3 separate regions of the Homo sapiens genome follow, and all the other regions are linked to region 3. The links are contacts of gene promoters, found by promoter capture Hi-C in blood cells and fetal thymus (Javierre and others, 2016). All regions are on one chromosome and are shown on one strand. The core of a region is centred on a gene start or on the middle of the fragment in contact, and the rest is flanking DNA. Distances in the headings are between cores, read along the strand shown.

Region 1 (2,700 bases), core at 136-2,635, 540 kb before region 3:
CTCTCCAGCAGAAGGACTAATGAGCAGTAATTTCGGAGGTGGGCAAAGAAACCTGTGCAATTAGCTGCTGTATTTAGTGGCAAATGAATGGTTAAGAAGCATTGATTTCACCAAACTTGCTTAAAGATCGATGCAGTCCCATGGTGGATAAACCCTTTATGACAGCTCTACACGTTGGGGGACTTTACCAGACCCAGGTTGCCACCCAGTCTGGGCACACGCCCTTCCTGGCTAGGGGCATTGACTGCCCTTCTAAGACATCGCTGAAGGACAGCATTTTTCTTTTTAATATTATTTTTATTTTTTATTTTTTATTTTTAGAGACAGGGTCTTGCTCTGTCACCCAGGCTGCAGTACACAACCATAACTCCCTGCAACCTCAAGCTCCTGGGCTAAAGCAATCCTCCCGCCTCATCATCCCAAGTAGTTGGGACTATAGGTGTGTGCCACCAGGCCTGGCTAATTTTTTAGTATTTTGTAGGGACAGGGGTCTTGCTATGTTGCCCTGGCTGGTCTTGAACTCCTGGGCTCAAGCGAACTTCCTGCCTTGGGCTCCCAAAATGCTGGGATTATAGGTGTGAGCCACCACTCCCAGCCAACAGCATTTTTGTTTTTCTTTCTTTTTCTTTCTTTCTTTCTTTCTTTTTTTTTTTTTTTTTTGACATAGTCTTGCTCTGATGCCCAGGCTGGAGTGCAATAGTGCAATCTTGGCTCACTGTAACCTCTGCCTCCTGGGTTCAAGTGATTCTCCTGTCTCAGCCTCCCAAGTAGCTGGGATTACAGGTGCGCACCACCACACCTGGCTAATTTTTTGTATATTTAGCAGAGACAGGGTTTCACCATGTTGGCCAGGCTGGTCTTGAACTCCTGACCTCAGGTGATCCACCCACCTCAGCCTCTCAGAGTGCTGGGATTATAGGTGTGAGCCGCTGTGCCTGGCCAACATTTTTCATATAGAGCAACTAGCCTCATTGTTTTTGAATTGCAAGATCTCTGATTGGTTCTTATGCGGGGGTGATTTCTGGGCTTTCTTGCTCTATAATTCACTATAATTTGATTGCCATTGAGAATGAAATATTTTCTAGGCTATGGTGCAGTGGAACCTCAGGTGAAGGATTTTAAAATTAGGGGAGTAGGCTTGACGCAGTGGCTCATGCCTGTAATCCCAGGATTTTAGGAGGCCAAGGCAGGAGGATCACTTGAGCCCAGGAGTTTGAGACCAGCCTGGGCAATATAGTGAGACCCCATCTCTATTATTTTATTATTGTTATTATTATTTTATACTTTAATTTCTAGGGTACATGTGCACAATGTGCAGGTTTGTTACATAGGTGTGCAGGTTTGTTACATAGGTGTACATGTGCCATGTTGGTTTGCTGCACCCATTAACTCGTCATTTACATTAGGTATTTCTCCTAATGCTATGCCTCCCCCTGCCCCCCACCTCACGATGGGCCCCAGTGTGTGATGTTCCCCGCCCCGTGTCCAAGTGTTCTCATTGTTCAGTTCCCACCTATGAAGGAGAACATGCAGTGTTTGGTTTTCTGTCCTTGTGATAGTTTGCTCAGAATGATGGTTTCCAGCTGCATCCATATCCCTGCAAAGGACATGAACTCATCCTTTTTGATGGCTGCATAGTATTCCATGGTGTATATGTGCCACATTTTCTTAATCCAGTCTATCATTGATGGACATTTGGGTTGGTTCCAAGTATTTGCTATTGTGAATAGTGCCACAATAAACATATGTGTGCATGTGTCTTTACCACATCTCTATTATTAAAATAAATAAATAGGAGAGTGGGCCGGGTATGATGATAAGGTGGGAGGATCGCTTGAGCCCAGGAGTTCAAGACTGGCCTGGGCAATATAGTGAGACTCCATCTCTATTATTATATTACATAAATATATTAATCTAGGAGAGTAGGCTGGGCATGGTGGTGTGCGCCTATAGTCCCAGCTACATGGAAGGCTGAGGTGGAAGGATTGCTTGAGCCCAGGAGTTCGAGACTGTAGTGCACTATGATTGTGCCTGTGATGAGCCACTGCACTCCAGCTTGGGCAACATAGTGAGCCCCCATCTCAAAAAAAAAAAACAACAAAAATAAAATTAGCAGTGTACATCGGAAGCATTGCAGTTCCCTGGGGCTGGTGAAGCGGCAGGCACCCAGCAGCTGAAGCCTCTGTTGACATCTCATGTTGTCTAGGAGGGAAGCAACTGGGACATTCCTGATGTGGTCCCCTAAATCCTGCAGAGCCCCATCGCTGAAGCCCTGGGGATAGCCCATGGCCCCTGCTGCTCTGCCCTGCTCAGTTTTTTGTTTTGTTTTGTTTTTTTAATTTTATTTTTAGAGACAGGGTCTCGCTCTGTCACCCAGGCTCGGATGAGCACTTCTGGGGTGGTGGCAGCTGATGTCCTGACTGCTTTATCTCCAGGTGGGATGAAGCAGAAGGAGCTCCAGAAGTAGCTACCCCTGTGTGTGAGCACACCTGGCCAAGACTCTGCAGTACAGTAGTAGGACGCTGGCCAGAGCTAGGGTGTGCAGGAAGTGCCCCTGTCTCCCTGGGCTCCGGTCTCCCTGCCTATAAAATGAGGGTTGTGGCTAAGTGATTATTTTTCTGATTTTCATTACATTCAGTAGTCAGTTTCATTCACTGATAACTTCTCCCTCTCCCTCTCCTTAACTCCAACTCCCTTCAC
Region 2 (2,700 bases), core at 167-2,666, 630 kb before region 3:
CGCTAATCAGCTTTCCCCTCAGCTGAGCAGCTTTCTGGAACAACCACACGTATTTTCTCCATGCGGTCTCACCGTGTGGTGTAGTTTGGGCTTCCTCACAGCATGGCTGCTGGGTTCCAAGAGCAAGCGTTCCAAGAGAATCACGGAGAAGCTGTACTGACTTTTTTTCAGCCATTGATTTATTTTTATTTGCAGTTTGTATTCAATACAAATCAATTTCATAACAAGTTACTATGAATCAAAGCATACACACACAAATATACAATCCAAAATAGATGTACAGCATTTCGGCATGGAGCAAAAGGGAGTGTTCATTCACACACACAGTGGAGTGGGTTCAGATCTGTTCCATCTGCTGTTCCCGTGTAGGTTTCTAAAGATGGAAAAAAAAAGACTACTGTGGCCATATTAGATGCTGGAACACATAAGCATCAGTGTGTGACCTTGTGAACAAAGGACTTCAGGGAGTGTCTATTTTTAAAAAGGTTTCTGTGTGTCAAGACAGTTGTAAACATTTTTATTACAGAATCAAGCTTACTTTGCGGTTTAGGACCAGGTTCTAACTATCTAAAAATATTGACATAACAAAATGTGTTTCAAACAGGGCATGATGGCTCATGTCTGTAATCCCAGCACGTTAGGAGATGAGGTAAGAGGATTGCTTGAGCCTAGGAGTTCAAGAACAGCTTGGGAACATAGAAAGACTCCTATTTCTACAAAAAGATAAAAATTCGCTGGGAATGGTGGCACACGCATGTAGTGCTAGCTACTTGGGAGGCTGAGGCAGGAGGATTGCTTTAGTCCACGAGGTTGAGGCCGCAGTGAACTCTAGCCTGGGTAACAGGGTGAGACCATGTCTCTTAAAAAAAAAGGCCCCAGCTGGGTGCGGTGGCTCACGCCTGTAATCCCAGCACTTTGGGAGGCTGAGGTGGGCAGATCACGAGGTCAGGAGTTCAAGACCATCCTGGCCAACATGGTGAAATGCCGTCTCTACAAAAAATACAAAAATTAGCGAGGTGTGGTGTTGTGCACCTGTAATCCTAGCTACTCGGGAGGCTGAGGCAGGAGAATCACTTGAACCTGGGAGGCGGAGGTTGCAGTGAGCCAAGATCGCTCCATTGCACTCCAGCCTGGGCGACAGAGTAAGACTCTGTCTCAAAAAAAAAAAAGCCCCAAAATGTGTTTTAAATGCAGCTATTCTGATCCATAGTTGTTGTTTGCAAAAAGCATTTACAGAAAAAGAGTATAGCCTGGGCACGGTGGCTCAGGCCTGTAATCCCAGCACTTTGGGAGGCTGAGGCGGGCAGATCACCTGAGGTCAGGAGTTTAAGACCAGCCTGACCAACATGGAGAAACTCCATCTCTACTAAAAATACAAAATTAGCCGAGCGTGGTGGTGCGTGCCTGTAATCCCAGCTACTCAGGAGGCTGAGGCAGGAGAATCGCTTGAACCTGGGAGGCGGAGGTTGCGGTGAGCCAAGATCATGCCATTGCACTCCAGCCTGGGCAACAAGAGTGAAACTCCATCTCAAAAAAAAAAAAAAGAAAGAAAGAAAAAGAAAAGAGTATAAAAGTTTTTGTGACTTTAATGCAAGTTAACTTTCAGTCTTTACTTTCCAAATACTTGATATACAGTTTTTGGCTCCTTTACATTTTTGCCCTTTTAATTTCAAGGTTTATAATTTTACCTTCAAAACAGATCTTTTTTTGTTTTTTGAGATGGAGTCTCACTGTGTCTCCCAGGCTGGACAGCAGTAGCATGATCTTGGCTCACTGCAACCTCTGGCTCTAAGGTTCAAGCAATTCTCCTATCTCAGCCTCTGAGTAGCTGGGATTACAGGCACACCACCATGCCCAGCTAATTTTTGTATTTTTAGTAGAGACAGGGTTTAATCTTGTTGGTCAGGCTGGTCTCGAACTCCTGACCTCAAGTGATCCACCTGCCTCAGCCTCCCAAAGTGCTGGGATTACAGGGGTGAGCCACCGCACCCAGCCCCTTAATGAATCTGGTGTCCTTGTTGAACGAAAATAGGTGAAATGAAATGCCTACCATTTGACTCTCTAAGGATAAACAAGAGTTATTGATGATGCTTGGACTTGGGGGTAGATTGCAGTCTATCATTGCCCTGGCACATGTCAATTACTAAATAAAAGGTCAAATGCAATGTCAAATCCAAATCCTCAGAGGAAAAAGAATTCAGTTACCAAAAGAACAGTGATAGCCTAACAATGTAAAACTTAATATATTGGCATTAAATTAGTACTGCTGAAATAATACATTGAGGATTTATAGAATGATGGAAGCTTTTTTTTTTTTTTTTGAGACGGAGTCTCACTCTGTCTTCCAGGCTGGAGTGCAGTGGTGCGGTCTCAGCTCACTGCAGCCTCCACCCTCCGAGTTCACACGATTCTCCTGCCTCAGCCTCCCGAGTAGCTGTAATTACAGACACTTGCCACCGTGCCCAGCTAATTTTTTGTATTTTTAGTAGAGATGGGGTTTCACCATCTTGGCCAGGCTGGTCTTGAACTCCTGACCTTGTGATCCACCCGCCTTGGTCTCCCAAAGTGCTGGGATTACAGGTGTGAGCCACTGCACCCAGCCGATGGAAGCTTTTTTAAACTTTAAGACAGGATCTTGCTCTGTCACCCAGGCTGGAGTGCCATGATAATGGCTTACTGCAGCCTTGACCTCCAGGGCTG
Region 3 (2,700 bases), core at 9-2,508:
CCCACCTCGGCCTCCCAAAGTGCTGGGATTACAGGCCACTGCGCCCAGCCTTCTAGAGGGTCATTTTTTGAATTTAATATAATTTCTTTTAAAAAAACAAACAAACAGTTGACTTATTCACAAATTTTGGTTCTAGCTATCTCACTCTCTGGTCTTAAGTCTTCTGGCACCTTGCTTCTCCTGGCCAGAGCTGGGCTCCACAGCTGATTCCAGGCACCTCTGCCGGCCTGACAGCTGGGCCCTGCCTGGGTGAGTCAGTTTCACCATGGGGAACACCAGCGTCTCATCCCAGAGACAGCAGGACATGGAAGAGGCTCACCTCTATTTATTGGGGTGTGATCTTAGCCAAGTCTGTACCATGTGCTGTTGAGAGGTTAAATGGGCGTGCACTGTGTAACGTGCCCAACAGAGGGCCTGGCACCAGGGGAGTGCTCAATCAACTGCATCTCTGGTGACAGTGGTTGCTGGCAAGGTTTCTGCTGTTTCCATGTTCCTGGCTCTGACGATGGAATTAGCTCTAAGGAGATTTAGGTGTGGGGGTCCCAGAGCTAGGGCTTTCAGTCCCCCAGGCTGAAGACTGCTGAAGACTGCAGTGGAGCAGGCCCTCACTGCCCTGCCTCTCTGCTCTCCTCAGGGAGCAACAGGTGACACTCTTCTCCCCAGGGAAAGACAAGTGGCGGGCTAGAGGAAAGGGGGAGGCACTTACCAAACACCCGCCGGCGGTTCTTGCGCAGAATGCAAGCCAGGTACTCCTTGCCCTCGGCACTCTCGTGCCAGTTTGGGACAACCACCGAACCGGGCACGGGAGGTCTGGCCATGGCTGGGCACCGCGACGGGGTAGGGAGGTGACAGAATGCTGAGAGCAGGGAGTGGGAAGGGGAGTGACAGTACCAAGCCGGGCCTGTGATCCCTCTTAACTGCCCTCTGACTCTCCCGGGGGGCCCCAGAAAGTGCAGTCCCTCAGCCGCCTCTCTCCTTCGCAATGCTCCCTGGGGATAGTCATCCCATTACTGCCCATGGAGGGTATTCACACAGCCCCTCTCCCCTTGTCACCTCCGGGGGTCAGACAGCCCCGCTTCTCCTCTACCTTCTAGATCCCGACTCCCAGGGCTACCTAGCCCTCCCCGTCAGCAGTCCCGGCGGCGAACCGACCTGGGTGCCGAAGGCCCCTTTAAACGCCCACCCGCACTCCCGCCGCCCCAGCCCGCCGGGCCCACTTCCGCCCCGCCTGCGTCCGCCTTCTGCGCGTGCTGGCAGCTCCGGCGCAGGTGCGCGCGGCGCATGTGCGGAGGTTGTTGCCATGGAGACGCCGGAGGTTGGGTTGGGCGGGTTCCGGGAGGCGTTCGTCCCTCCTACAACGTCCGCAGCCTGCGCCGCGCGGTGGCTCTGGACTAGGCCTTTTCCTCTGGGTTGTGGATCCTCTTCTCTATGACTCCGTCCGATCCCTAGTCTTTCTTCCAAAACATCATGAAACCCCCCCTCCAGGAGCCTTTCATGCTTCTCTGTGTCTCAGTTTCCTCTTCTATAACGTGGACGTAACATGTTATTCCCTCCATAGCAGTGCTCCATATGTTTAGTTATGATTGTTGCTATTATTAATATTATTGCTCTATTAATCCTGCTTGGCAGGACCTCTAGATGACTTAAACATCTCTGGCTTCACTGATGGGGACACACACCAGCTCAGAGAGGTCAAGGGACTTGGCTCAAGTTTTAAAAAATGAGTCAGAGGCCCGCTGGATTGTATTTTTCATTCATTCATTCATTCAACAAATACTGAGCACCTAGCTGGGAATACAGTGGCCAACAAGAAGTCCCTGCTCTCCTGGAGCTGACTTTTCAGCTCTGAAACTCTGAGCTCCTCTCCACCGTTCCAGCACTGGACACCAGGCCTGTTACCCAGAAGGTGGGTGCTCAGTAAATGCCCACTGGTTGGAAAGAGTGCAGGTGGGTCATTACTGAGAGTTTGTCTATTACATTTAATTTTTACCATTATCTTTCCGCAATGCCTTCAAGTAGGGCAAATCACTGTTTTGAAAGGAATAATTTAGGAGTTAAGCTTTACCTAAGGCCACCCAAGTGCCAGACAGTGGGGACTTTACAGGGGTCACCTGATTTAATTCTATAAACAAACCTGTGTAAATAGTATTACCCTCTTGTACTGACGAAGACTCTCAGAAACATAACGTGACTTGTCTGAGGTCACACCGCACAGCTAGTCAGTGTGAAACCGACTCAGAACCCACAGCTGGCTGGGTGTGGTGGCTCACGCCTGTAATCCCAGCACTTTGGGAAGCTGAGGCGGGCAGATTGCTTAAGCTCAGGAGTTTGAGACCAACCTGGGCAACATAGTAAGACCCTGCCTCTACAAAAAAAAAAATACAAAAATTAGCCGGGCACAGTAGTGCACGCCTGTAGTCCCAGCTACTTGGAGGCTGAGATGAGAGGATTGCTTGAGCCCGGGAAATGGAGGTTGCAGTGAGCCGAGATCATGCCACTGCACTTCAGCCTGAGTGACAGAGCTAGGCCCTGTCAAAAAAAAAAAAAAAAAAAAAAAAAGAACCCACACTTACCTGACTCTAAAGTACTTATCTGTTCTGCCAGTTTGGGTTTTGTGTTTTTAAAACTTTGCCCCTAGCCACTAGGAGGGCTGTTCCTAGGGAAGCAGAAAGCAGCCAGAGGACTACGAACTCACAGATT

The links. Contacts are between HindIII fragments. The CHiCAGO score rates a contact against its expected background, and 5 or more counts as called.
Region 1: a contact is called between a fragment that was not itself captured here and the fragment with the promoter of CPLANE2 in region 3, in 1 of 17 cell types (total B cells). The highest score is 5.7, in total B cells.
Region 2: a fragment that was not itself captured here is called in contact with the fragment with the promoter of CPLANE2 in region 3 in 1 of 17 cell types (activated CD4 T cells); the score reaches 5.1 in activated CD4 T cells.

What each region holds. Positions count from the first base shown.
Region 1 is chr1:15,697,908-15,700,607 of GRCh38, forward strand. The region is part of intron 1 of PLEKHM2 (pleckstrin homology and RUN domain containing M2); the gene reads left to right. Among named protein-coding and RNA genes, the nearest start is that of PLEKHM2, 15 kb to the left of the region's middle. The HindIII fragment of the contact is 4,369 bases long and covers 1-2,700 here.
Region 2 is chr1:15,609,817-15,612,516 of GRCh38, forward strand. It overlaps the pseudogene CD24P1. Among named protein-coding and RNA genes, the nearest start is that of DDI2, 6.3 kb to the right of the region's middle. The HindIII fragment of the contact is 1,771 bases long and covers 532-2,302 here.
Region 3 is chr1:16,235,925-16,238,624 of GRCh38, forward strand. It overlaps CPLANE2 (ciliogenesis and planar polarity effector complex subunit 2), which reads right to left and starts at 1,259. Exons shown (of 5, transcript NM_030907.4): 1 at 707-1,259. The coding sequence starts at 818. RefSeq lists an enhancer at 752-1,296 and a silencer at 1,137-1,316. The HindIII fragment of the contact is 3,895 bases long and covers 1-2,057 here.